7 separate regions of the Homo sapiens genome follow, and regions 1, 2, 3, 4, 6 and 7 are each linked to region 5. The links are contacts of gene promoters, found by promoter capture Hi-C in blood cells and fetal thymus (Javierre and others, 2016). All regions are on one chromosome and are shown on one strand. Each heading gives the region's core, a stretch centred on a gene start or on the middle of the fragment in contact. The rest is flanking DNA. Distances are from core to core; before and after follow the strand shown.

The links. The method cuts DNA at HindIII sites, captures the fragments that hold promoters and counts their contacts. A CHiCAGO score of 5 or more calls a contact.
Region 1: a fragment that was not itself captured here is called in contact with the fragment with the promoter of DSEL in region 5 in 1 of 17 cell types (total CD4 T cells); the score reaches 5.1 in total CD4 T cells.
Region 2: a contact is called between a fragment that was not itself captured here and the fragment with the promoter of DSEL in region 5, in 4 of 17 cell types (total B cells, total CD4 T cells, naive CD4 T cells and 1 more). The highest score is 7.9, in total B cells.
Region 3: a contact is called between a fragment that was not itself captured here and the fragment with the promoter of DSEL in region 5, in 1 of 17 cell types (total CD4 T cells). The highest score is 6.1, in total CD4 T cells.
Region 4: a fragment that was not itself captured here is called in contact with the fragment with the promoter of DSEL in region 5 in 1 of 17 cell types (total CD4 T cells); the score reaches 5.2 in total CD4 T cells.
Region 6: a contact is called between a fragment that was not itself captured here and the fragment with the promoter of DSEL in region 5, in 6 of 17 cell types (activated CD4 T cells, fetal thymus, naive CD4 T cells and 3 more). The highest score is 11.9, in activated CD4 T cells.
Region 7: a fragment that was not itself captured here is called in contact with the fragment with the promoter of DSEL in region 5 in 6 of 17 cell types (activated CD4 T cells, total CD4 T cells, fetal thymus and 3 more); the score reaches 9.6 in activated CD4 T cells.

The regions. Positions count from the first base shown.
Region 1 is chr18:69,953,686-69,957,158 of GRCh38, reverse strand. It overlaps a transcript of CD226 not described here. Among named protein-coding and RNA genes, the nearest start is that of CD226, 7.5 kb to the right of the region's middle. The HindIII fragment of the contact is 1,345 bases long and covers 733-2,077 here.
Region 2 is chr18:70,085,454-70,088,911 of GRCh38, reverse strand. RTTN (rotatin) reads left to right here. Exons shown (of 49, transcript NM_173630.4): 31 at 765-923; 32 at 2,228-2,299. Among named protein-coding and RNA genes, the nearest start is that of RTTN, 120 kb to the left of the region's middle. The HindIII fragment of the contact is 1,039 bases long and covers 1,579-2,617 here.
Region 3 is chr18:69,895,346-69,899,027 of GRCh38, reverse strand. CD226 (CD226 molecule) reads left to right here. Exons shown (of 6, transcript NM_001303618.2): 3 at 2,983-3,327. Among named protein-coding and RNA genes, the nearest start is that of CD226, 51 kb to the left of the region's middle. The HindIII fragment of the contact is 2,614 bases long and covers 960-3,573 here.
Region 4 is chr18:69,864,196-69,867,924 of GRCh38, reverse strand. CD226 (CD226 molecule) reads left to right here. Exons shown (of 6, transcript NM_001303618.2): 5 at 514-568; 6 at 3,486-3,729. The coding sequence ends at 3,611. Among named protein-coding and RNA genes, the nearest start is that of CD226, 82 kb to the left of the region's middle. RefSeq lists an enhancer at 3,030-3,099. The HindIII fragment of the contact is 3,500 bases long and covers 115-3,614 here.
Region 5 is chr18:67,515,118-67,518,351 of GRCh38, reverse strand. It overlaps DSEL (dermatan sulfate epimerase like), which reads left to right and starts at 1,632. Exons shown (of 2, transcript NM_032160.3): 1 at 1,632-1,991; 2 at 2,860-3,234. It overlaps DSEL-AS1 (DSEL antisense RNA 1), which reads right to left and starts at 1,806. Exons shown (of 5, transcript NR_033921.1): 1 at 1,603-1,806. The HindIII fragment of the contact is 6,208 bases long and covers 574-3,234 here.
Region 6 is chr18:70,185,046-70,188,731 of GRCh38, reverse strand. It overlaps RTTN (rotatin), which reads left to right. Exons shown (of 49, transcript NM_173630.4): 10 at 509-624. Among named protein-coding and RNA genes, the nearest start is that of RTTN, 19 kb to the left of the region's middle. The HindIII fragment of the contact is 3,709 bases long and covers 66-3,686 here.
Region 7 is chr18:70,207,772-70,211,259 of GRCh38, reverse strand. LOC105372180 (a long non-coding RNA gene) reads right to left here. Exons shown (of 3, transcript XR_935599.3): 3 at 276-1,567. It overlaps LOC124904321 (a long non-coding RNA gene), which reads left to right. Exons shown (of 2, transcript XR_007066411.1): 2 at 176-907. Among named protein-coding and RNA genes, the nearest start is that of RTTN, 3.8 kb to the right of the region's middle. The HindIII fragment of the contact is 341 bases long and covers 1,483-1,823 here.

The sequences.
Region 1 (3,473 bases), core at 156-2,655, 2.4 Mb before region 5:
CGTCCTTTCAAATTATAGATTCTTTGGGGGAAAAGAGGGACAGAACTTTATCTGAGTTTGGAATGAGTCTGAGTAGCTGCAATAGTAAAGTTGCTTCCAGAAGCAGGTAAACTTGACTTCAAAAAACCCCGCTTCATGAAATATTAGTGATTCACTTCAGTTGCTATCTGAGGAAGTTCTGGTAGAGAGAAGAGCTCAAGAGCATGGGCAGAGTCAGCTCCTGAGTGGGCTGAACGCTCCCCTCAGCTCCTGCAGTGCTAATTAAGGGAGGGAGCAGCGGGGAGCTTGCAGTGACCAAGAGGGTGTTGAGGCTAGGAGGCCACGATAAACAGGATACGATAAAAGTCCTTAACCAAGACGCAGATGGGAAGAAGCGTTAGAGCGAGCAGCACTCACATCTCAAGGTTAGTAACCTTCTCAGAAAAAAGACTGGATGTGTCTGAGCTCAACTTTTTAAATGAATCGTGTGCGAAAGGGTGGGGGCTGCCAGTGAAACCATGGCAAGTTGATGCAGCAGGACAAGAGAGTTGCCGGAAAAAGCTGGAGTAAGTTAAGTGCTCGGTGTTCTGTGAACTGTTAGTTTAATGAGGGGTGCAGTTTGTAGTAAAAGGGTGCCAGTTAAGTACTTTTTCTCAGTCTGTCTCTAGAATTGTATTTATAATAGATCTGATCGTAAAGTTCTTGAGAATAAGAAAACTGAGCTAATTTTACCGGCATCTGGTCTGTCAAGCTTAAATCTTCCTTCTCTCCAGCAAGACTGAACAAGGATGAACTTAAATAATAAATGTCCATGATCCAAAGATTTATTATCCTACTCAAGGGTTGGGAAACTTTTTCTGTAAAGGGCCAGATAGTTAATATTTACAGCTTTGTGGGCCGTGTGGTGTCTGTCAGTTGTGACCTAACACCTCTTGGTTCCAGCATTGCAGCACAAAAACAGCGGTGGATGGTATGTAACCAAGTGAGCATGGCTGTCTCCAACCAAACTGTTTATGGAAATCAGTGGGCTGCGCCCAGCCCTCAGGCCATAGTTTCAGAACCCTGTCTTAGAGGATCCCTGCTGAACCCCAACTGGAGTCTTTGCGTTGACTGGAAGTGGGGTTCTACTGGTCACTCAGCAGTAGCCTCACTCCTGGGGACATGTGTATGACTTGCCAAGGTTCTAAGGGTATCGTGGTCTAGAGGAGACCATGTGGCCCACATTGGAAAGGTTCTCTTAATGAGATTATTTGAGGAAGGGAGCAGAAACCCAGACTATTGTGTTCCTGAGGAAATTTTTTTTTTTTTTTTTTTTTTGAGATGGAGTCTCGCTCCTTTGCCCAGGCTGGAGTGCAGTGGTGCGATGTCGGCTCACTGCAAGCTCTGCCTCCTGGGTTCACGCCATTCTCCTGCCTCAGCCTCCTGAGTAGCTGGGACTACAGGTGCCCGCTACCACACCCGGCTAATTTTTTGTATTTTTAGCAGAGACGTGGTTTCACCGTGTTAGCCACGATGGTCTCGATCTCCTGACCTCATGATCCGCCCGCCTCGGCCTTCACTTTGGGATTACAGGCGTGAGCCACCGCACCCGGCCTCCTGTGGAAATCTTACTGGAAGTATGAGCCTCTTAACAGCTGGGGCATCCCAGCAGAAGGCAGGCAAACCCTCGCATCTGAGAAGGAGTGGAGGGAGCAAACGACCTCTCACACTATAATCTTCCCAGCCCCAGTCACTTGTTCTGAGTTTAGCTAGATTTTCTGTTCACAGTCCTCTGCTTTCCAGCATGTGAATAGTTTTCCAAGCAAGTGTCGAAAGGTATCAGAGCAGATTCTCCATCACACACATCAGGTGTTTTTGCATAAACTGGGGAAGGTGGGGTCATTGAGTAGACACTAGGAGACTCCTCCCAATGCTCAGAAACCATAGAGACATCTGGGGAAGCAGGACATATTGTAGGTAGCAGAAACAATGAAACTGAGGTGACAGGGAAGGTTCTACCTGGGTGGACAGCCTACAGGAAGAAGAACAGTGTGGCTGAAGAGTGTTCCCCGTCCCCACCCACCCAGGCCACCTAGGAGTCTGCATTCAGAGGCAAGCTTGTGAGATGAATTCATGCTCATGTGGTTAGCTGAGACATTTTTAATAGTAGAGAAATCCAGTAATATTTTGATTAATGACTTCCTTGAGGACAAAGCTCTTTTATACAGACAGCTCTATTAGAAAAAAAACCTCAAGCCAAAATCCCTTCATAAATCATGCAAAAAATGGCTGCTGACACAACAAAAATAGCTCAAGCGCTGTCTCTATTTGTCTTTGGTTAGATGTTGATAAATAGGGCTCATCTCTAGCAAAGTCGTAACAGCTGGACTTTGTCTTCAGCTGCAAGTCTTTCTGCCCCTTTCATTCGAATCTGTGACCTCTAGGACCCTCAATTCCAGGGTGCAAATACACAAGTTCTCTTCATCTCTTGACTAGTTGGCTCTGGATGCCTTGGGAATAAGGAGTTCCTACAAGTTATTACCAGTTAGTACCCCTTTTCCAGTCCTCCTCCCATGAACCTCATTTCTTTATCCTGGGTGAGGAAGTTCACTTTGGGCCTGATCATAGAAACCACCGAGAGTGGATGATGCTAGGTTTCATCTCATTTCCTTTAGGATTTGAGGCAGCACGGTGTTGCAGATGCCTGCTTGGCCCTCAGCCCTTCTACCTCTCTACCTGCACCTCTACCCCACTTTACCCAACCCTGACCCCTCCCTCAGAAAATAGATATGTTTTGGCATTTGTTTAATAAGCACATAATGATTTTTAAAAATATCTTAAATCATTTATCTGACAACCTCGACTATCATGATCTTTTGCATTATTGATTTCCAGCTGTTATCACAAAGTTGTGACAGAGTGTGTCTGTGGACTCTATGCTTAGACTGTACTATGCTAATGTACTGTATTCTTAGAATGTACTTGGCATCTTTGGACCGGGGTGGTTGGGGGATCAAATGAAATCAATTAATACGTGGCCAACAGCAAGATGGGGTGGCCTCATTCATTGGTAAGACCTGGGGTGAATGTGGACTCATACTATTCACTAGTAACAATTTTTAAAAATTGAGGTGAAATTCACATAACATTGTTCACCTAAGATTTAGTCAACATAAGATTAAACTTTTTTTTTTTTTTTTTGAAACGGAGTCTTGCTCTGTTGACCTGGCTGGAGTGCAGTGGCACAATCTCAGCTCACTGCAACCTCCACCTCCTGGGTTCAAGCGATTCTCCTGTCTCAGCCTCCCAAGTAGCTGGGATTACAGTTGCGCACCACCACGCACAGCTAATTTTTGTATTTTTAGTAGAGTCGGGGTTTCACCATGTTGGCCAGGCTGGTTTTGAATTCCTGACCTCAAGCAATCCACCTGCCTTGGCCTCCCAAAGTACTGGGATTACAGGTGTGAGCCACCACACCAGGTCAAGATTAAATATTTTAAAATATACAGTTCAGT
Region 2 (3,458 bases), core at 849-3,348, 2.6 Mb before region 5:
TTTGTATTATTTCTTTCCAGTTTTAGCCAGTTTACTTTTTTCAAGTAAAATATGCTATTACAATAAAATCTTATTTATAGAAATATTTGAAATACATTTTTTAGTCACATTGAACTTGGACTTACTACTTGACAATTTTATGACTGCATTTTTAAAAAATTCTATAGCTGTCATTGAAACTATATTTTTGGATTCGAATTCAGAAATTTACCAAAACGTGTGGCTTGAACAGCAGTGGTTCTACAGCAAGCATATTATACCACATCAATCTTATTTGGGAACGTTTTTCTCTTGAATAACTTTTGAGGAAAATACGAAATGCCTTGTAAAATGATAATTGCCTCTTTGTTTAGAAGTTTTAAGAAAGTTAAAATCATTTATTTGGAAGAAACAATAAAAAATTAAGAAAGGTAGAACAAAGAATAGCTACCTTTTTTAAGAATGAAGAATTGAAATTGTGTTCATAAAATGTAAGTGCCCTATGCTTTCCTTAGAAAAAGGCTTGCAAACTATAATTTTTATGCATCTTTTTATACCCAGTTTTACTTTGCTTTGAAATTTGCTTATATTTAATTTTTCCTATATTACTGCTTTCTTGAATCATGGAATGGAGGACACTGTCTTCTATAGGTGTCTCTTATAATTTAGGATCATAAAACCAATGGATTTTTTTAAAGTGTGATATTTATGTACCAGAAAAACTAAGAATTCATGTTAGGAAAAAGGCTTATTTGATTCAACAACTTTCTCTTTAATTTGAACAGGTGAGATTCACTTCACTGGGATTAGGATCAGCACTGACCACCCTTGAAACGGGCTGTGTGGCCTTAGCAAACAGTTGTCAGAACATTTCCGGTGGGCTCTGGGGAACTGTGGTGAACATTCTTCTGGACCAGTCAGAATGTAGTATGGTGCGCCGGGAGGTATGTCTGTCTTTTCTCCTTTTTTTCCTTAGAAATTCTTTGTGATGGTATCCGTAAGCGATACTTGACTGCCGCTCAACATGGTGGACTGACCACTGACCATGATCTCTTCTGTCTGTGAACACCCAAACAAAATGACAGTAGAGGATTTAAAAGGTATTCATGCACAGGAAAAACTGGAGTCCTTCCTTCCGATAAGATAAAATCGGAATATACTATATTTTAATGTGAACTTTTTTTATTATGCATTGAAAGGTAGTTCACAGGAAAAATTACTTTTATATTATCTCAGCATTTATGGGTCTCTGATATTTATGAAGCTTTAGTATAGATAAGAGGCTGTCAAAATAACTCTTTGTAGTATTTATCATATAACATGAGAGGGAAAAATAAACCCTATTTTAATTCTTTCTGAATAGCTTGTGGTTTTTTTTTATTGCTGCTTTTGTTAAAGTAATGATTCATGTAAATGGTTTTAAAACAATAATCAAATTGTACTTAGAGGCTTATGAAAAAAAACAGCAGCTCCTGGGTCCACCATTAGCAGTCGCCAGTTCCAAGCTCAAAAGGCTAGTTTTGTTGCTGTTTGCCTTCATGTTTTTAAGTAGTGATGTTTATATTTATGGCTGCTTCTTGATTTATCAACTTTAAAGCTTTTCCATCACTTCTAGTTATCATGGTTGGAAATGTCAGTTTCTTAGAATCCTCTTGTTAATCCTGTCATTCTCCCATTATGGTTATTTCATCTTTCATTAAGCAGACAATCAATGCTCCTATTTGTATGATTATTTAATTTGATCATCTTCAGGATCTAGTCAAGTTGGACATTTGTGGTTTGTATTTCTAGTTAGCAAGTTTTTATTGAAAGGAGTCTGTATAAGAGAAGGGAGAAAGCGGGGCAGAGGGGTGCGTGTGTTTGTGTGTGTGTGTGTGTGTAATCTGAAAGGGGATAGTAGAAACCTAAAATTATATTTCTTAAATGCTACCAGAAGAATTTATGTTATACAAATCATTTTTTAATAAAGCTGAATTCTGAAATAGGAAAAGATATATTTCCTGATGAAATAATTTCATATGCTGTTAGGTCATTACCTAACAAGGTCATTACCTAAGAAGGTCATCACCTAACAAGAAATACAGTTTGACAATTCTCATAATGACCTCTCAGCATGTGCAGTTGACCAGAGATGTCTTTTGCTATTAATTACAATATATTGGTTATTTCAGAGATGACCACAAGATGGCAGTATTGACCTTTTTTTTTTTTTTTTTTTTTTTTTTTTTTTTTTTTTTTACATTTTCAGGCGGCATTTATTCTTCAGAATCTCCTTGTAATTCCAATGCCTACAGAAATTATAAAGGATTATACTTGGCAGGTGGGTGATTTTAAACAATTATCAACCTAGTAGATGTTTCAAATTAATTGGTGATAAATTTTCAGTATAAGTAGTATATTTCATTATTGATGAAACTATATACAAGACAGCAAGGGCCTCTTAAAATAGAACGTAGAATTTGTTCTTATGCCGACCAGACTTAAAAATTCTTCTCTATAGTGTTCACAATAATTTAAAGCAAATAATAATAGTTAACATATGTTTACTATGTTTTAGGCACCCTTCTAGAAATGTAAGACATAGTAACTTGTATAATTGTTTGAGTTGTGAACTGTTACTATCCTTATTTTCTAAGCTTAGGAACTTTTGCATAGAGAGTTTAAATAGTTTGTCCTAAATCACACAGCTAGTCAGTGGTACGCCTTTGCTTTGAGTCTAGGCAGTCTCTTACCCACTTTGCTGTATTACTTCTCTAATTTAGTAATAATAAACAAATTTGTAGATAGTTAAATATGTGTTGATGTTAACATCTTTTTTTCCTTTTCTAGGTTAGTGCACAGTGCGGGTTATAGTGTATCTTGCTTTGTTTTCTGTTGGGTTAACTTTCTTTTTCATGTTCTGAATATCACATCAGTAAATGGTTACCTAACATTTTTATAGCTTACATTAAAAAAATTCTAGCTTCATGGGATATATGTACATGTTTGTTACATAAGTATATTGCGTAATGGTGGTGGGGATTGGGGTTCTCGTGTACTCATTACCCAAATATTGAACATTGTACCCAGTTAGGTAATTTATAACCTCAGCCGCCTCCCCCACTCCCTCCTTGGGAGTCTCAGTGTCTGTTATGTCTGTCTTTATGTCCATGTGTATTCATTGGTTAGCTCCCACTTATACGTGAGAACACGCAATATTTGATTTTCTATTTTTGAGTTAGTTCACTTAGATAATGGCCTCCACCTCCATCCATGTTGCTGCAGTTTTAGGTAATTTGGAAGATACAAAAGTACACTTATTGGGGATATAAGATGTGCTGTTTCTGTCCTTTTACCTATCCATATATTTTCACCTTATAGGGATATATTTATCATATTGCTACACCTCACTCCTCAAAATCCTGTATAAATCTAAGGTTTATTTTTAAGTTTTAATTAGACTATACTCTTAGAGGAGTTAGTGAAACAAGCTGAACCGT
Region 3 (3,682 bases), core at 1,017-3,516, 2.4 Mb before region 5:
TATTCTAAGTATTAATACGTAGCTACATATAAGTATAAGCTGGTTTTCATTATTTGTATTTGTTTTATTGAAATCAAATTTTTTTCTTCCCAATTAACTACGACATTTTGGTCTGTTTCACGTGAATCCACTTTCCAATTCCAAGTTCATCAGGATCCCACGGTTCTCTTGTTTGTGTGGGCTCTTTCTGGCAGTTCTTTTCAAGGTCATTTTGAGCTGCCTTCCACTGAGCTTTGCAGGAAGAGCCTGTGGTCTGAGAAGCCACAAGCAATATCTGAGGCAAGGCAGGTTTGGCCGACCTCGTAATAGGTCTTGATTTTCATCTAACACCAATCAGTTACTCTGTTTGTCAGGAAAGGTTAATCAGGGGCTACTCTGAGCTTCTGAACCACCTGGCTCTAGGGTTGGGAACCACTTCTTTCACCTCCAGGCTGAGTCTATTGAGAGGCGGGTCTAGGTCCTCACATGGAGCCTCTGCTGTAACCTCCCTGCACTTTGCTCCCCAAAGACAGCTGCATCCCCTCTAGGATTTTCCCCATTGCTTCCTGCATTGTCCTTTGTGAAAATGCAGACACGGCTATGAGTAGACCCCTGTTTCTACCTGAGTCGGCAGGTTCACGGGGGCCTGACAGCATGGTTTTGGTTAGATAGGCAGACAAAGGAAACTCCTGAGATTGGACGGGGCGGCATCCAGAGAGAAGAAGAAGAAAAACACAAAACAGTTGTGCGTGTGAGCACTGAGGACACGCATTCACGCTGCCTCTTACTTCCCAGGGACCAGAAGGGCTCACATGAAAGTCGATTTCTCCTCCTTTTTTTCATTTCTTTTATGTTCTTTCATTTCTCCACATGGTGTGCTAGCATCTGATTTTATGTTGTCACGCATTTCCTTCTTTTCTCACGTCTTCCTTTCCCTGTTTTAATTTTTATTTTAATTTTCCTTTTGTTTCTTTTAAGCTTTTATTTCCTTTTTTCCCTTTTTTAATGAATTTTCTTCCTTTGCTTTTCTTTCTTCCCCTTTTCTTGTGTTGCTTTATTACTTAGAGACGAAATGTTTTCCGGGTGTGTGTTATGTGGGTAAAGTGCTACCTTTGGTAAACGGTTGTACAGAGGAGAAAGCTGGAGTGCTGTGGTTTTCTTTTTACAACATTTTGACACATGGAACCGCATGCTGAAGATGAGAAGCTAGTTTTTGGTGCGGCTGAAACTATCGTAGCCATGATATTCTAGTTCAATAGATGGCAAATCTTACTGCACTTTAGACTTGCTTTCATTCTCTCTTTCGAAATGTGACATCTCTTTTGTTTCTCTGTCTCCTTTCCTTCCTTTTTTCTTCCTCCCTCCTTTTTTCTTTTTCTCTCTTCTTTTTCTCCTTCCCTCCTTCCTTTCTCTCTTTCTCTATTTCTTTTTTCTTTTGTTTGTATGCCAAGACAATGGCTCCTGGGCCAGTCCTGAGTGAAACTGTCACATAGTTGAAGTGACAGATGACTTCCCACTTTTTGCATTTCTCCCTTAGTGCCAGAGAGTTTTGTGACATCATTACTGCCCAGGCCTCACTCTACTGAAATAGCAGGTCAGGATTTGTTGGCATTAGTGATGCCATCAGAAGAAAGAAGGTGTTCATCACTAATAAATAGATCCACTTGTTACCTTGCTGGGTTATCTTAATTTTAAGAAAGAGTTACCACAGTTTATTCTTTAGATCGGGTTCCCAAACTTTTTGGTCTCAAGACCCCTTTATGCTATTTTAAAAATTACTGAAGGCCCTCAGGGAGTGTTTGTTTATGTACGCTATATCTGTCATGTTTACTGTATTAGAAATCAATATTGAGCAAAATTTAAAACACAAGAATTTTCAAGCATGCATACCACTAGCTGGCAGAGCCTCTGGAAATATCTACTGTATACCTGTGAGAGAACTGGAGTGAAGAGGGGGAATTTCCTCTCAATATCACTAGGAAAATAGATTTGAACTGGCATATCCCCTAAAGGGACACAGAGATGCCCAGGGCCCCCAAACACACTCTAAGGACCATGGACTTAGATATTTAGTGACAATTACTGAGTACTTTATGGTAGGAATTCCAGAAATGGTGTGAGGAAGGTGGGAGAATACTGGACTTTCATGGTATCAAGAATTGATACCACATGTGGGGCCCTACTCTACCCATGTGTAAGACAACCCTGTATATCTGAAGAATGAGATCATGTGTATATTCAGTGAGAATGATTTGGTATCTTTTTCATAACTGTCAGAATCTTAGCCAGAATGATTATAACCTGAACATTTGATACTGTAGGTCAGTGTCAGAGACACCAGCCCAGCATTATTGCCTAACAGTCTCTTTGTAAAATTCAGCCTCTTGATATGATACCAAGAAAAGCACCAGGGGTTTTGGCTGTGTTTCTCACTACATGGTTAACCAAGTAACACTTATGGAACTATGTGTGAACAATCATATCCTCTTTTCTATTTATCTCCCGGACTTAAAAACAAAAAACAAAAAACAAAAAAAACCCTTTCTCTTACAAGAATGTGTCATTCACAACTGGGTGCGGTGGCTCATGCCTGTAATCCCAGCACTTTGGGAGGCCGAGGTGGGCGGATCACAAGGTCAGGAGATTGAGACCATCCTGGCTAACACGGTGAAAGCCCGTCTCTACTAAAAATACAAAAAATTAGCCGGGCGCGGTGGCGGGCGCCTATAGTCCCAGCTACTCAGGAGGCTGAGGCAGGAGAATGGCGTGAACCTGGGAGGTGGAGGTTGCATTGAGCCGAGATCACACCACTGCACTCTAGTCTGGGTGACAGAGCAAGACTCCGTCTCAGGAAAAAAAAAAAAAAAGTAGTATAAAGAGGTCATTCACAACGGAAGAACTGTGTTAGGTAACATCACCAATTATTTTTATGATTAAGTATCTTCCAGTTGGGTGTCCCAAAATTTGACAACCTGTATCTAATCATTTGCTTCTTCTTTTCAGATAGTTTTGAGGCAGCTGTGCCATCAAATAGCCACATTGTTTCGGAACCTGGAAAGAATGTCACACTCACTTGTCAGCCTCAGATGACGTGGCCTGTGCAGGCAGTGAGGTGGGAAAAGATCCAGCCCCGTCAGATCGACCTCTTAACTTACTGCAACTTGGTCCATGGCAGAAATTTCACCTCCAAGTTCCCAAGACAAATAGTGAGCAACTGCAGCCACGGAAGGTGGAGCGTCATCGTCATCCCCGATGTCACAGTCTCAGACTCGGGGCTTTACCGCTGCTACTTGCAGGCCAGCGCAGGAGAAAACGAAACCTTCGTGATGAGATTGACTGTAGCCGAGGGTGAGTGAGCACCAGACATCTTCTGGTATCAAACATGGAAAAAGCCAGCCCCGTGGGCTGGTCTCTGTTTTTATTTATGGTAAACATGTTCATTTAATGCGCATATTCAGCATTTTTTTAAATGGCTGAATTTAGGTGAGTTGGCCATTATTCTAGTATTGAGGGTTTCTTTATCTTGTGAATCCATCAATCAGATACAGCAATAAAAATCTTTCCAATTTTCTTATCTGCCACCATCCTGAAGCTTAAAAAAGAAATTCGTAAAGGGCTGAAAAACATATGGTATTACCAGCCTTCAGGTTTCAGCTGTAGAACTCCTATCTTCCCAATTACATGAATATTTTTGATGGTGGTG
Region 4 (3,729 bases), core at 615-3,114, 2.3 Mb before region 5:
CTTAGTTTCTAAACCTGTTTATATGAAATCTTAATAAAATAATCTACATAAGTGATTTAATAAAATAATCCATACGAGTGATTTAGAATAACACCCAAAAGATTTTATAAAGCTTCATTATATTGTCATCCAAGAAGTTACACTGCTGGCATTTAAAATAAATTTTAATTGTGGAAAATGTCTTAAATGTGAGGTTATTTGGAGAAAGCTATAAGTCATTTATGTAATAAGTCACTATAAATCATTCTTTAGTAAAATCACTGAGATTAATTACTAATGCACAGTGGTTAGATATCCATTTAGTTGCCCTCACCATCTGGGAGCAATTTGGAGAAGACAGGGAAAATGAAAAAAACTGTAGGGTAACAGAATTTTGGATAAATGTGCATAAAGCTACTTCAACATATTAGAAGGTGCATGTGGGCTAGGGGTACAGTGAGGTATAGAGTCTTCGAAATAATATTAGTACTGGAATATCATATCTTTATATCCTTTATTGAATATGCATTCCAGAAGGAGAAGGAGAGAGAGAAGAGATCTATTTACAGAGTCCTGGGATACACAGAAGGTAAGTTTATACGGAACTGTCATTTTTTTCTTTTGTAATTTACAGATGCAAAGTCAGTCTCTTTTGCAGTTAGCAATCTTATATTTTATTGTCCTTTCAGTAACCTGACCATGCAGTTGCCTGTAATTTAAATATCAGCTATTTGGAGAAAGTTATTTTCTGAACTATTCTATTTTTAATACCCTTTGAAACTAAGTTTTTTATATGAATATAAATAAAGGAGCAATTACCCTGGCGTAATAACAATCAACACTATGCCTTCCCTAAATCTTTGTTCCTTTTCTAGGGCTGCTGTGACAAATTACCAAAACGGGGTGGCTTAAAACAACAGAAATCTATTCTTCCATAATTCTGGAGGGTTGAAGTACAAGAAACAGTGTCAGAAGTACTGGTTTCTTCGTGGGATGAGAATCCATCCCATGCTTCTATCCAGCTTCTAGTGGAGCTGTCGATCCTTGGCTGGTAGACACATCGCTCCAATCTCTGCCCCTCTCATCACTGTTCTCAGCTGTGTGTGTGTGTCTGCCTTCCTTCTTTTCTTATGGAGACCCCAGTTATCTTGGACTTAAAGGCCCACCCCTCTCCAGCACAGCGTTGTTTGAGCTTAGCTAATTACAAGGATCCTATTTTCAAATGAGGTCACATTATGAGGTTCTGAGGAGGACATGAATTTGCAGGGGACAGTATCCAACCCAGGAGAGGACATAATATTTTTATGTCATAAGGTTATTGTGATGGTTAAATTGCATAAAAGAACCAGAAGCGTAGCAAGCACATAGAAGAACGTAATGATATTCATTATTATTATTATCTTTGGAGGTAAGTTATTAGTGTATACTTATACAACCAAAGAACTTTTTTATTTCCTTATGGGCTGCAGGAGTTTGATGAGCTGTAAAAGTTTCTTCCTTATTCTGCCTTGCTGCTGCCCCTTAGTGTTTAACTAAAAGACTAGAAACTTCCTTCTGGGTTTGCAGATAAGAGGGATATGTATTTTCATGCTCGTTATCCCCACTATACTTCAAATCTCTTCCTTTAATGCATAGCATCCTGTTTATGAAATTTCACAAAAAAAGTTGCTATGGATTGAACATTTATGTCTTCCCAACATTCATATGTTGAAATCCTAATGCCTAATGCGATGATATTAGGAGGTGGAGACTTTGGGATGTAATTAGATCATGAGGGTGGCGTCTTCGTGAATGGGATCAGTGCCTTTTTAAGGACAGAAGAGCTTGCTTCCTCTTTCTGCTCTTTGCAATGTGAGGATACTGAGAAGACAGTTGTCTGCAAACCAAGAAACAGGCCCGCAGGCCCTCACTGGACTCTTTTTTTTTTCTCAAGTTAGGAAAATATTTTCTTAATCTTGGACTTCCCAGCCTCCAGAACTGTGAGGAATAAGTGTTTGTGGTTTAAGCAACCCAGTCTACAGTATTTTGTTACAGCAGCCCAAACTAAGACAAAAAATTCCCCAATTCCTAGCCAAAAGTATATAAATTTCTTTTCATTTTAACTATTCGCAGTGGAATTCTACATGGCCACAAGCCAAGTACTAAAAAGGTTCTGACAATCCAACATGTGTTCATCAGATGCCTTCATAATTTATCAGTTTAACTTTTTATTTATTAAGTAGTTACTTTTGCAAAAAATATTTTTTTTGTTTGTTGGCAAAAAACATGGATTGCTTCTTGATGCCAACTGTAGAATCAAGAAACCTTGCTTTATTTCATCAGCCACTTCAGCAAGAAATAAATTGGTGCTCTGTCATACACAATTTTGGGATTCCCTTCTTCATCCTTAGCCTTTGTCTACTCATGCCAGTCTAGTCACATTTATTGTTGTGAATTTGGGGAATGAAAGGGAGCTTTGCAACGGTCTATATTAGGTATCCAACTTTTTCAGGTTTTTGTAGAATAATATTTTGAAGGATTATTAAAGAGTTAATAGGTTGGACTGTCAAAAAAAGACATTAGAACTACTTCATTCTCTTTTTTAAAAGATAACCTCTATAAGTAATCATGGCACTTGAATTTTCATTTTGCTTTCTTCTTAAAAACACTAACATCTGGCTGGTCATGGTGGCTCACGCTTGTAATCCCAACACTTTGGGAGGCTGAGGTGGGCGGATCGTCTGAGGTCAGGAGTTTGAGACCAGCCTGGCCAACATGGCGAAACTCCATCTCTACTAAAAATACAAAAATTAGCTGGGCGTGATGGTGCTTGCCTGTAATCCCAGCTACTCGTGAGGCTGAGGCAGAATTGCTTGAACCTGGGAGGTGGGGGTTGCAGTGAGCCTAGATTGCGCCACTGCACTCCAGCTTGGGCAACAGAGCGAGACTCTGACTCAAAAAAACCAACAACACTAAGGTCAATCTAAATTTTTAAATTACTCATCAAAAGACCTTTCTCTAGTTTCTTTTGTCTCTTAATTTGTCTTTCTTTTTTCACACCTGCATATTTTCTGTTACATACATACATATGTGGTCAAAGTGACTTGATTACGGTAGAGAAGATTAATGATTATACAATATCATCTTGATGTCAGTTTTGTTAACTTTTTATATGTTAAGTTGCTTATTTTTTAAAGTTCAGACACTGTGTTAGAATTTCCATATAAAAATGATAGTAATTGTTCTTATCAAAATAGCTTAACATTGGGAGAGGGAGTTCTACATTGAAACAGGTAATTCATAGCACAATACAGCAAGTATTAATCTAGACTAGATTTCTGTTGCATCTCAGTCAAGAATATGATTTCCAACAGAAGTTCAATACAATGAGAATGTTTTATCAAATTAATTATAATGGAAACTTGTCCCATATCATGCCTGCATTTATGAGAGGTATGTTTTGAATGTCTTCATTAGTTGTTGAAATGCAGTGAATTATTGACACTCTCTGCTGTTTGTCTTTCTAGGCACCCAATAACTATAGAAGTCCCATCTCTACCAGTCAACCTACCAATCAATCCATGGATGATACAAGAGAGGATATTTATGTCAACTATCCAACCTTCTCTCGCAGACCAAAGACTAGAGTTTAAGCTTATTCTTGACATGAGTGCATTAGTAATGACTCTTATGTACTCATGCATGGATCTTTATGCAATTTTTTTCCACTACCCAAGGTCTACCTTAGATACTAGTTGTCTGAATTGAGTT
Region 5 (3,234 bases), core at 383-2,882:
GAGTTTTGAATAGGGTACAGGAGTCAACCAGTTGAAATAGAAAGCAGAAAATAAACAACCTAAACGGCCGAATATAGGTACAAATGATATAGTTCTGGAGTAATACATTCTGGCTAGGGAAACTTAGGAGTTATTTACAGAAGAATGTAAGCATCTGAGTTGAGACCTGGATGATCAGATAATTTCAACAGTCAGAAGAATTTTAACTAGTAAGTGGGGTGGTTGGGTAAAGGACACTGTGAGGGAAAGAATGGAATAAGCATAGTTACTGAAGCACCCAAGCAAAAGCAAGTGTGGCTATTTGGACTGGGCTAGGGGTTACTACGGGGCCAAAACAGAAGAGTGATGAGGAGTTAGAGGCCACATTTCACCTCAAAGTTAAATGATTTGAAATTTATTCTGCTAGCAGTCGTCTACTGTTTGATTTTCAGCAGCAAATGATCTAAGCAAGACATTTATTTTTAAAATGTTAAAATATATCTTATTAAATATTACCAAAATAGTATGGGAAATGAAGAGACTGAATGTGTTACTAATCCCCAACTGAGAATGGAATTGTTCATTTGTGAAGCTTGATATTTCCCTGTATTTTTATTACTACTAAGCTATTATTTTTTACATTTGAGGTCAGAGCTTGGGTTGGTTTATGCCAAAGTGTCATCTCAGCTATCTGTGAGAAGCTCCATGTGTGGAGTGCAACAGGAGTCCCAGCCTGCTCTAGGATTTCCACGACCTGGCACTGCACTCACATGTCGTAGTAGCCGGGGCACACTGCCTTCTCCTGTCTGCATGTAGGTCTTTACCGAATACCAGGTCCCATTTTTAAATAAGAGGCTCCTTCTACTTGTTTGTCCCATGCTTCCCCTATTTATACTGCCTGAGAAATTGTTTTCCATCAGTAAAGCTGATTAGTCTTTTCTGTTTTCCCTTGATCTTTGTTAGCATCTGGGCTACAGAAGTTGTCCTCCTATATTAATCTGGGTATTTCGGTTTTGCTTTTCCAAAGGACAGCAAGCTCAGCCAGGCTGCCTCTCAGTTCCAAGGGAGTGCTCATTCCCTCCTTCCCCAGCCCTTGCTCTTTCCAAAAGGATGATTTCTGTCGTCCCAGGGCTTATCCCCTCCCACTCCAGCTCCTCCCATCATTTGAGTCAATCCCACAGCCCCCACTATGGCTCTATTATATAGTTGTCGTCTTCCCATAACCAAAAGGTTTTAACGCCAGCCTGGCAGCGTCTTTAGACTCTCGCACTCCCAAACTGTCCCCTCCTCCAGCTCGACTCCTCCGGGAGCGCGCGGCCACCGCTGCAAGCCCAGAACACAAACGCCTAGAGCTTCCTCCGCTTAGAAACCCGGGGCGCTTGGCCCCGCCTCACCTGCTTTCGGCCCCGCCCCGCCCGCCGCCGGCCTGCTCACGGCTCCTCCCGTCCTCCCCGAAGCCCCGCCTCTGACCCCGCCCTGTCCTGTCTCCGTCCCGCCCCACGCCCGCCAGCCAGCGTCGCTGTCTCTCGCCTTCCCTGAGGCCCCGCCTTCAGCCCCGCCTTCAACCCCGCCCCGTCCTGCCTCCGCCCCGCCCCCGCTTGCCGGCCCGCGTCGCCGTCTCACCCTCCCCGGGCTGCGCGGCCGGAGCTGGCACAGAGGATCCTCGGCCGCGGCGACATCACCGCCTGGGCACGCGGGCGCTGCTCTGGATACGGCGCCACCGAGAGAACCCGCCGCCCGCGGGTCTCTGTCCTGCGGTCCGTGGTTGCCCCCACAAGCGTCCGGCGTTTCCTGAGGGCGGGCGTGTCCGGGCCGTGCGGGTCGCGGGGACCGAGCGCGGCTGAGGAGACCGAGCTGGGGCAGCGCCTGCCGTAGCGCGGGAGACGACGCGGGGGTCTTGCGGAGCCCCGCGGGAGCCTGGCCCGCCGTGCAGAGCAGTTTTCTGGAACTCTCCACCTCCGTCTCCCTTGGGGCCCAGTGCGGCGCCGAGCCCCCGTCGGGATCTGCCTGAGGTAAGCGGACTTGGTGGCTCAGGGGTCTCTCGCCATCCTGCCTCACTCAGCCCCAGAGCGGGGAGCGGAGAATGGGGGCGGCAGGGTCGGAGGACGCCAGTGAAAAAATGCAACAGGCGGGGCGGATCAGGAAACTCCTAGCCTGAATGTTTCCTACAGAGGGGAGACTTGTCCAAGACTGAAACTTGCTTAGGTTCTTCCAGCCGCGGACGGGCACGGAGAGGCGTCTTTCGACACCGGGGTCCGAGCTCCCTCTGGCGGCTCCACCTGAGGACAGGGACTCGGCCACAGGTGAGCGCCGAGCGCGGAGCTCCCGCCCCTCGGCTTGGCGCCTGGTCACGATTCGCGGTTACCCCGCCGAGAAAAGTGACTGGTCCGAGTAGTTCTCATTAGGAAGATACCTTCTGATCCCATGAACTCTAAACCTTCCCCCGGAATTAAAAAAAAAAAAAAAAAAAAAGATCTTTTCAACTTTCAGTTTTTTGTCCCTCGGTCCTTGGGAACAAGAAATAACAAGGATAGCAGGACTCATCTTTGTGTAAACTGCATTTGAATACAAACATTTTTTAAGTGACTGAAGCCACGTTAGTGGCGTTAAACTATAGATATTGTCGGGAGAGTTCTATCTTGTATATTTTGTATTGTTAGTTGCTTGTCTTCTGCTGACGGTCACTGGTTTCCAAATAAGTGCGTGTAAATGGATAAGAAAAAAATCACTTGCCCTAGCTTAGGTTGCAGATAATATGAGATTTTACTGTGATTCTAAAATTTCTATTAAGTGATTGCAGAATGTTTAAGTCATCAGTTTATATTCATTCTCAGCATACCTGAAGCCTCAGAGAATTTTTATTTTGTCCCCCATCCCCAGAAAAGTGTCATGAAAAAAGAGCAGAAGAGAGACCTCACTGTTGCTGAAAGGGGAATTTTCTTTCCCCGTTGGCGGTTACTTCATGATCGGACGAGAAGTATCTAGGTGACTGAAGATATTCCATTTTTATGTTTGTACACATGAAGCTGATAAAAGAAGATGTGAACATGATTTCTCTTTGTCATAATAGGCTGATGAGTAAGTAAGCCTGAAAAATATTTGAAATGAAGGCAAGAATTTTGAATTTTTAAAAACCAACTAAGACTTTGATCACTTGTTGAGGATGTTTCTCTCTCATAAATGAAAGAAAAACGTATTCACAAGACAAGAAGTATAAAAAGTTGAGAGGAATGACAACTGAGTCCACTCACTCGA
Region 6 (3,686 bases), core at 671-3,170, 2.7 Mb before region 5:
ACAAATAGTTTCTTTAGCAAATGTTAGCATGTTCATTTATTCCTTTAGTTGCTCCAGTCCAAGCTTAGCTTCCCAGGCAACTCCTGTGTGGGAAAATACTAATTTATGAGAAGGCTCACGCCTTCTAGTACTAAGTAGAAATTATTGGAATACGTTTTCTAAACCTTTCTGGTGCTTTGTCACATATTACGTGTAAAATGGATGGTCCCTAAATTCGAAAAATTATTTTAATCTATCTCACAGTACTTGTTAGATTATTGCTACTTTCAATATCTTTTCCAATTATAAATGTATTTGATTTGTTATGTAGTAAAGTAGTACTGTGACTGGAACAGAAGCCTTCAGTGTGATTGTAAATTGTGATTTCTCTACAGTTCTAAGAACATTAGAAAAAAAGAGAAAATGTTGGAGCATGACTAACTAGAAAATTGAGCAATATGATATTCAGCTGATTATTTTAAAGTTAAGTAACTTCTTCTCCTTTACTTTTTTCTGTTTGTATTCCTAGGTAGCAGACAAGTGATAATAAGAGTTCTGGAATTGCTTACAGAGGATATGACACTTATTGGTGAAGCAATTTCAACAGATATCTGGGATGACAGCAGCCTTTTTGGTATAGATATGGTAAGAATCAATGTTTTCTTTGGGATATAGGGAATAGTATTTTTTAAGATTTTGGTTCTTTTAAGCCGGTTTCATTGTCTCATTCGTGTTCAAAATCTTTTTTCTTTTTGACTCAATATGTCCCAGGCTTATGTTATAAATAGCCTGGAACAGGCCTATTTTTCCAAAGGTTCTGGTTACTTCTAATAGTGGAACGTATATTAAGACCAAAACCAGGCCATTAGAGGTGGTTATAGCTACTGTGATATCATTCTTTTCTTTCAGGAACAATTAGGAAATACGTATTTTTAAAGATCGTGAGTTTATTGCTATTTTTCTTATTTTAAATTTGTATTTCTTATCCTTGCGCTTGTAGAAAGTCTTCGTTCCTAGCAATATCAGCATAATTGCTTATTAGCTTTGACCTTAAACATACATAAGATAGTTTCAGAACAGCAATATTAACATTGCTATGAACAATTCTAATGAAAAGTTCAAGATTTCCTGGCAGTTCTTTTTGAGATAGACTAATCTCACTAAGGATATACAGTCAAAATACTGTGCCTTAAAGCTACCGTTACCCATTCAGCATACAGTTAGATTTTTTTTTGTTTGTTTTCACTATTGGGAATTGTTTTTTCTTCATAAAAATGTAGCTCAGAGATGCCTCTCTCCCATCCAGTTACCTTTAAGATGTTTTCCTTATTGGTAGTCATTTTTATTTTCTGGCTATTTTTTTCTATTTTTATTTTATTTTTGCAAATGTAAGCAACTAAGTATGTAGATTCTTATCCTCTCCCCATCCTGCATAAAAGGTGGTATATTATAGACACTGTTTTGCACCCTGTTTTTATAACTTAAAAATACGTCTTATGTGCATAGAATAGTAGGTATGAGGATTATTCCCTATCTATCTATACGTGAGATTTTCTCGTTCTTTTTTATAGGTAGCAAATGCTTCGTTGTGTATTTGTTAACCTAGTCTCTTGATGGATATTATTGTTAATATAAATTATGTACAAAGAATAATGGGCTTATGCTATTTCATAAATGTGCAGGTATGTCTCTAGGGTAGATTTATTTAAGTGGGCATGCTGTTTTTCTAAAAAACTTTTATTTAGCTTCAGCGGTACGTGTGCAGGTTTGTTATGTAGGTAAACTGTGTCATGGGGGTTTGGTGTACAGATTATTTTGTCACCCAGGTAATAAGCCTAGTACCCGATAGGTAATTTTTGTGGTCCTCCTCCCACTCTCTGCCGTCGAGTAATCCCTGGTGTCTGTTATTCCCCTCTTTGGGTCCATGTGTTCTCATTGTTTAGCTCCCACTTATAAGTGAGAATATGTGTATTTGGTTTTCTGTTTCTGGATTAGTTTGCATAGGATAATGGCCTCCAGCTCCATCCATGTTGCCGCAAAGGATATGATCTCATGCATTTTTATGGCTGCATAGTATTCATTGGTGTGTATGTACCACATTTTCCTTAATCAGTCTCCCATTGATAGGCATTTAGGTTGATTCCATGTCTTTGCTATTGTGAATAGTGCAGCAGTGAACATACACATGTATGTGTCTTTATGGTAGAATGGCCTCAAGTGATCTGCCTGCCTTGGTCTCCGAAAGTGCTAGAATTACAGGTGCGAGCCACCGCGCCCGGCTGAGCCATGTTGTTTATGTAGTAGTACAGCAGTTCCTCACTTGGCATCATAGATAGGTTTTCGGAAACTGTGACTTTAAGCAAACTGACTTATAACAAACCCAGTTATTTTTTCTCATCAGCATTTAGTGAAATGGCATGGAACTTGTAATGCTGTTTCATTAAAGTCAGTTTCCAAGAACCTGTTGACCAAGTTAAGTGAAGGCTTACTGTAGTTTATTCATTTTATTTCTGAGTAGTATTACATTGTGTGGACATACCACAATTTGTTTATCCATTCACCTGTTGGTGGACAATGGGGTTGTTTCTAGTTATTACAAATAACATTCCTATGGACATTCCAGTTGTTCCACATCTTCAACATCTATTATGTTCAGTTTTTTTTTTTTTTTTGGGGGGGAGAGGGCATTCTGATAGATGTGCAATGGTATCTTAGTGGGTTTTAATTTGCATTTCCCTAGTGACTGATGATTATGAGCATCTTTTGTAATTTTTAGAGAGCAAGTCTAGGTTTTTTTTTAAAAAAACACTTATTCTTAAGTATTCTTTTCAATGCCATTGTGAATGAAAATTTTAAAAGTTTTTGGATTGCTCATTGTTAGTATATAGAAATACAATTGATTTTTGTGTATTGATCGTCTATTTGGTGGCCTTGCTGAACTTACTAGTTCTGGTAGTTTTTTTTGTTTTGTTTTGTTTTCTGGTAGATCCCTTAGGATTTTCTATCTATAAAATCTTGTTATCTGTGAATAAAAACAGTTTTAAGATCATCTTATCTGTGAATAAAGACAGTTTTATTTCTTTCTATTCACTCTGGATACCTTTAATTTTTTTAAATTGCCTAATTGCCCTGGCTAGAAGCCTTAGTATAATGTTGGATGGATGTGGTGAGAGCCTTCTTCATGATTTAGAGGGAAGCATTCGATCTTTCACCATTAAATACAAGATTAGCTCTAGTACATTTGTATTTTGTAGATGCCTTTATAAAGTTGAGGAAGTTCCATGTATTCTTAGTTTGTTGAAAGTTTTGATCATGAATGATTATTGTATTTTGCCAAATCTTTTGTCTCTATTGAGATGATCATTTAGCTTTTTGAAGAGCAGAAAAACTTAATTTTGATGAGGTTCAGTTTCTTAGTTTTTCTTTTATGGATCATGCTTTTGATATTTTATCTAAGAAATCTTTGCCTAACTTGGAATACAAAGAGTGTTTCCTATGCTTTCTTTTAGAATTATTACATATGTTTTAGGTTTTATATCTTTGATTAATTTTGAGTTGATTTTTGTATCTAGCACAAGGTAAGGAATGAACTTTTTTTTTTATGGGTATACAATTATTTTCTCAGCACTATTTGTTCAAATGACTGTCCTTTCTTTCCTGAATTCCTTACCAACTAACTATATGTGGGTTTACTTCTGGAATCTATT
Region 7 (3,488 bases), core at 404-2,903, 2.7 Mb before region 5:
CTTAAACTCCTGAGCTCAGGTGATCCACCCGCCTTGGCCTCCCAAAGTGCTGGGATTATAGGCATGAGCCACCACGCCCAGTCAGGATTTTCTATATATAAGGTGATGTCAATTACATATATAAATTTTCTTTTTTTTCTAATCTGGATGCCTTTTATTTCTTTTTCTTGTTTAGTTACCCTGGATAACACTTCCAGTACAGTGCTGAATGGATGTGGTGAAAGTAGACAACTTTATCTGCGTCTGTCCTTTCATAATTAAGACAACTATTTATTAAATTGTGAAAAGAAAGCAGGGCTCAAATCACGTTGCTCTAATTGAAATGGAAAGTGAATACACCTTGTTTCAATCCTTCCACTTTAAAATGGCATAAAATATGTATTAACTTTCTATTTTGGTATTGAGAGAATAAATTAGAATTTGATGATGCCCTTCAAAATTAAATATGTGAATTCATAGGACAAAGTTATGGGGCATGATTAGGAAAATTCGTAAGTGAGGGATGAAACCTGGGGTCATTTTTCCTTCCTAGAGATCAGAATTATTAATAAATCATGACCTTTATTCTGAAAGAAGGAAGGCTGGGGTGCCAGTGACTTTCCTGAAAGACACACGAAAACGTATGCCTGCCCTGGGGACAATGAATAACTTCTACACATATATTGGTTTGAGCCCCCTTTGTTTAGGAATCCTGCTTGCTTGCTCTTTTTATATGATGTTTTCATAAATAAATTATGATCCCAGTTAATGTAAAAGTAGGTTGTAAAAGGATTTCCCTCTTGGGCCAATAATGTGTCCCCTCCGAAGAATAAGAAAAAAAGTATCAGAGTGCTTCCTTCCCCCTTTTTCTGTTGCTGGAAATGTTTTCGATATGGCTGCACAAATAAATGCAGTAAGGTTGTGGGCACCTCCACTCTGCAAGCCTCCATCACTTACGTAGCAAAGTTGTTTCTGGGGCATAAGATCCCTTTGATGAAGGCAGCGTCTACCTTGCAGTTACACTCACAGACAGTACTTGAACATGGTTTGACATTGCATTCGATTCCTGGAAAGGGAGGTACCTCCAAGTTTGACAGGTGTTAAAACAGAGCTATTATTTGTAGTAACTACTTATTATGGGAGGTCTTGGAACAAATCCTTTCTCTAAATCATCTTCTTTGGCCCCCAGGCAGTCCTATTAGTAGGTATTATTATTAATCTTAATTTTTACTTGTGGAAGCTGAGGCTTAGTGAGTATAGAGATATCATTTTTTTTCTTCCCTCTGTGCAAGATTCTTTTCCCTCATTTTCTGTGAATAACATACCTTTTTAAGTGGAAGTCTTCTGCCCCACTTTCTGTAACTCTAATTTTAATAATTATAATATCCTGCCCTGCTGTTCAGAGAGTGTGAACAAATAACCTAGGATCAGGTAATCTCCTACTGGTAATCCTGATTAGGGTTCTTATCATAGATTTTATATCTGGATGCTCAGAGAGAAGCTTTCTTTTTCTTCTGGAGTCATTATATGGGAAGATGGAAGTCTGGACCACAATCTTCTCCTCCTCTACATTTTGAGGAAATTCTGCCTGTAATAGAAGAGAAACATACAACACACTGAGAAAATCAAAGCCGAGAGATGAATAAAAAACACTGGTATTCTTTTGAGTCTCTGAGGCTAGATCCACTTCTAGAGTGAGATATTAGATAACCCATTTTTGCTTACTTGCCTGACTTACAGCTTTGTTATTTGCAATCGAGAAAGTTAATCAGCTTGCCCACAGTTGTGTGATTAGGGAAGCCAAAACACTGCTTTTAAATCCATGTCTGTCTACCTCCAAAGCTTGTGCTCTATACAATATTTTAGCTTATACTGATATGAACCAGATTTCATCAAATATTAACAGAAAGAAAGGGTATAAAATGCACATGATCACAACTGACAGACCCACCATGTATAACCCCAAATATGAAAACTCATGTCCAAAGTGTGAGGAAGAGCAAAAATGTATGTCTTTTCCAAGAGGAAAAAAAGCATTTCATTTCCCCCTAGAATCAATTCCTACAGATAGTAATATGAGTTCTTAGGAGAGTAACTATTTCCTGTGACTTTGGGTATAAATATCTCATCTAATCTGAGTGATCTGATTCAGCACACTGAGGCAATGACTGCCAGTGATTTTACAGGTATGACCAAGAGGTTGAAGATGAATCAGATTCAAGTGGAAATAGCAGAATCAGTAGATAATTAGATAGTAGAATTTGACCTCCGCCTTTGGGTTCATGTGTCCTTAATGTCCTGTGGCTTGTGATCATAGCAAATCTCAACATATAATAGCTCTACCCATGACCCCTTCCCAATCCATGTATATATCACCAGTTGAGTGACCATCATTTATCATCGTGTAAAATTCAACATAAGTTTTTATACATAGCATTTAAATAAATACAACAAAAACCACTGTAAATACAAGAAGAAAATTATGTAGTTTTCTATACATCCACGCAGACATCTATTGCCCATTTTTTTCAAGTTCACCTAAAATCTTTGACTTTAACATTCAAATTACAAAAGGCCCTGACCTTTTGTAATTGTTGCTGACTCTGATATAATAAAAGTCGAAATTAATAACTAAAGTGTATGTAAGAAAGACTTGGTGATTAAAGACCATCTTCCTACATGGATCTTGGGTGAAACAGAAAGTATCAAAACAGCAGTTTCAGATTGGCTGAGAACAAAACCTTACAAATTGAAACTCATGATACATGATTAAAACTTTTTTTACATGCAAATTCATGGACTTAAAATTCTCTATAACTAATAAAGAAAGAATGTAAACAAGACCTTTAGCTTAAGAAGTTAAAAAAAGAACAGCAAAACACACTTAAAGAAGGATGTAGCCCAGGTGCGGTGGCTCACGCCTGTAATTCCAGCATTTTGGGAGGCCGAGGCAGGAGGATCATTTGAGGTCAGGAGTTCGAGACCAACCTGGTCATTGTGGCGAAAACCCATCTCTACTAAACATACAAAAATTAGCTGGGCATAGTGGCTCATGCTTATGATCCCAGCTATGTGGGAGGTGGAGGCAGGAAAATCACTTGAACCCAGGAGGCAGAGGTTGCAGTGAGCGGAGATCACACCACTGCACTCCAGCCTGGGCGACAGAGTGAAGTAACTGGTAAAAAATAATACAGTCAATACACTAGAATATATATGTGTGTTTTTAAATAGTAGAATTAATAAATCAAAGGTTGATTTTTTTTTAGGAAAAATTGCTGAATCAATAGTCTAATAGGAGAATGATAGATTATTTGCTTTGAATGTAATGAATGGGATTTAATTATTTTTGTCTAATTACAGGAGCAATATATGCTCAACAATGAAAATAAAATAAAATGTTTATGTTGACCTTGGGTGCAACATAAGTAAAACCCTTTCATAGTTTGACCCCCATTTTACTTGTAACATGCTTGTTTTAAGTCAATGGATTTTTTATATTTCTTCTACAG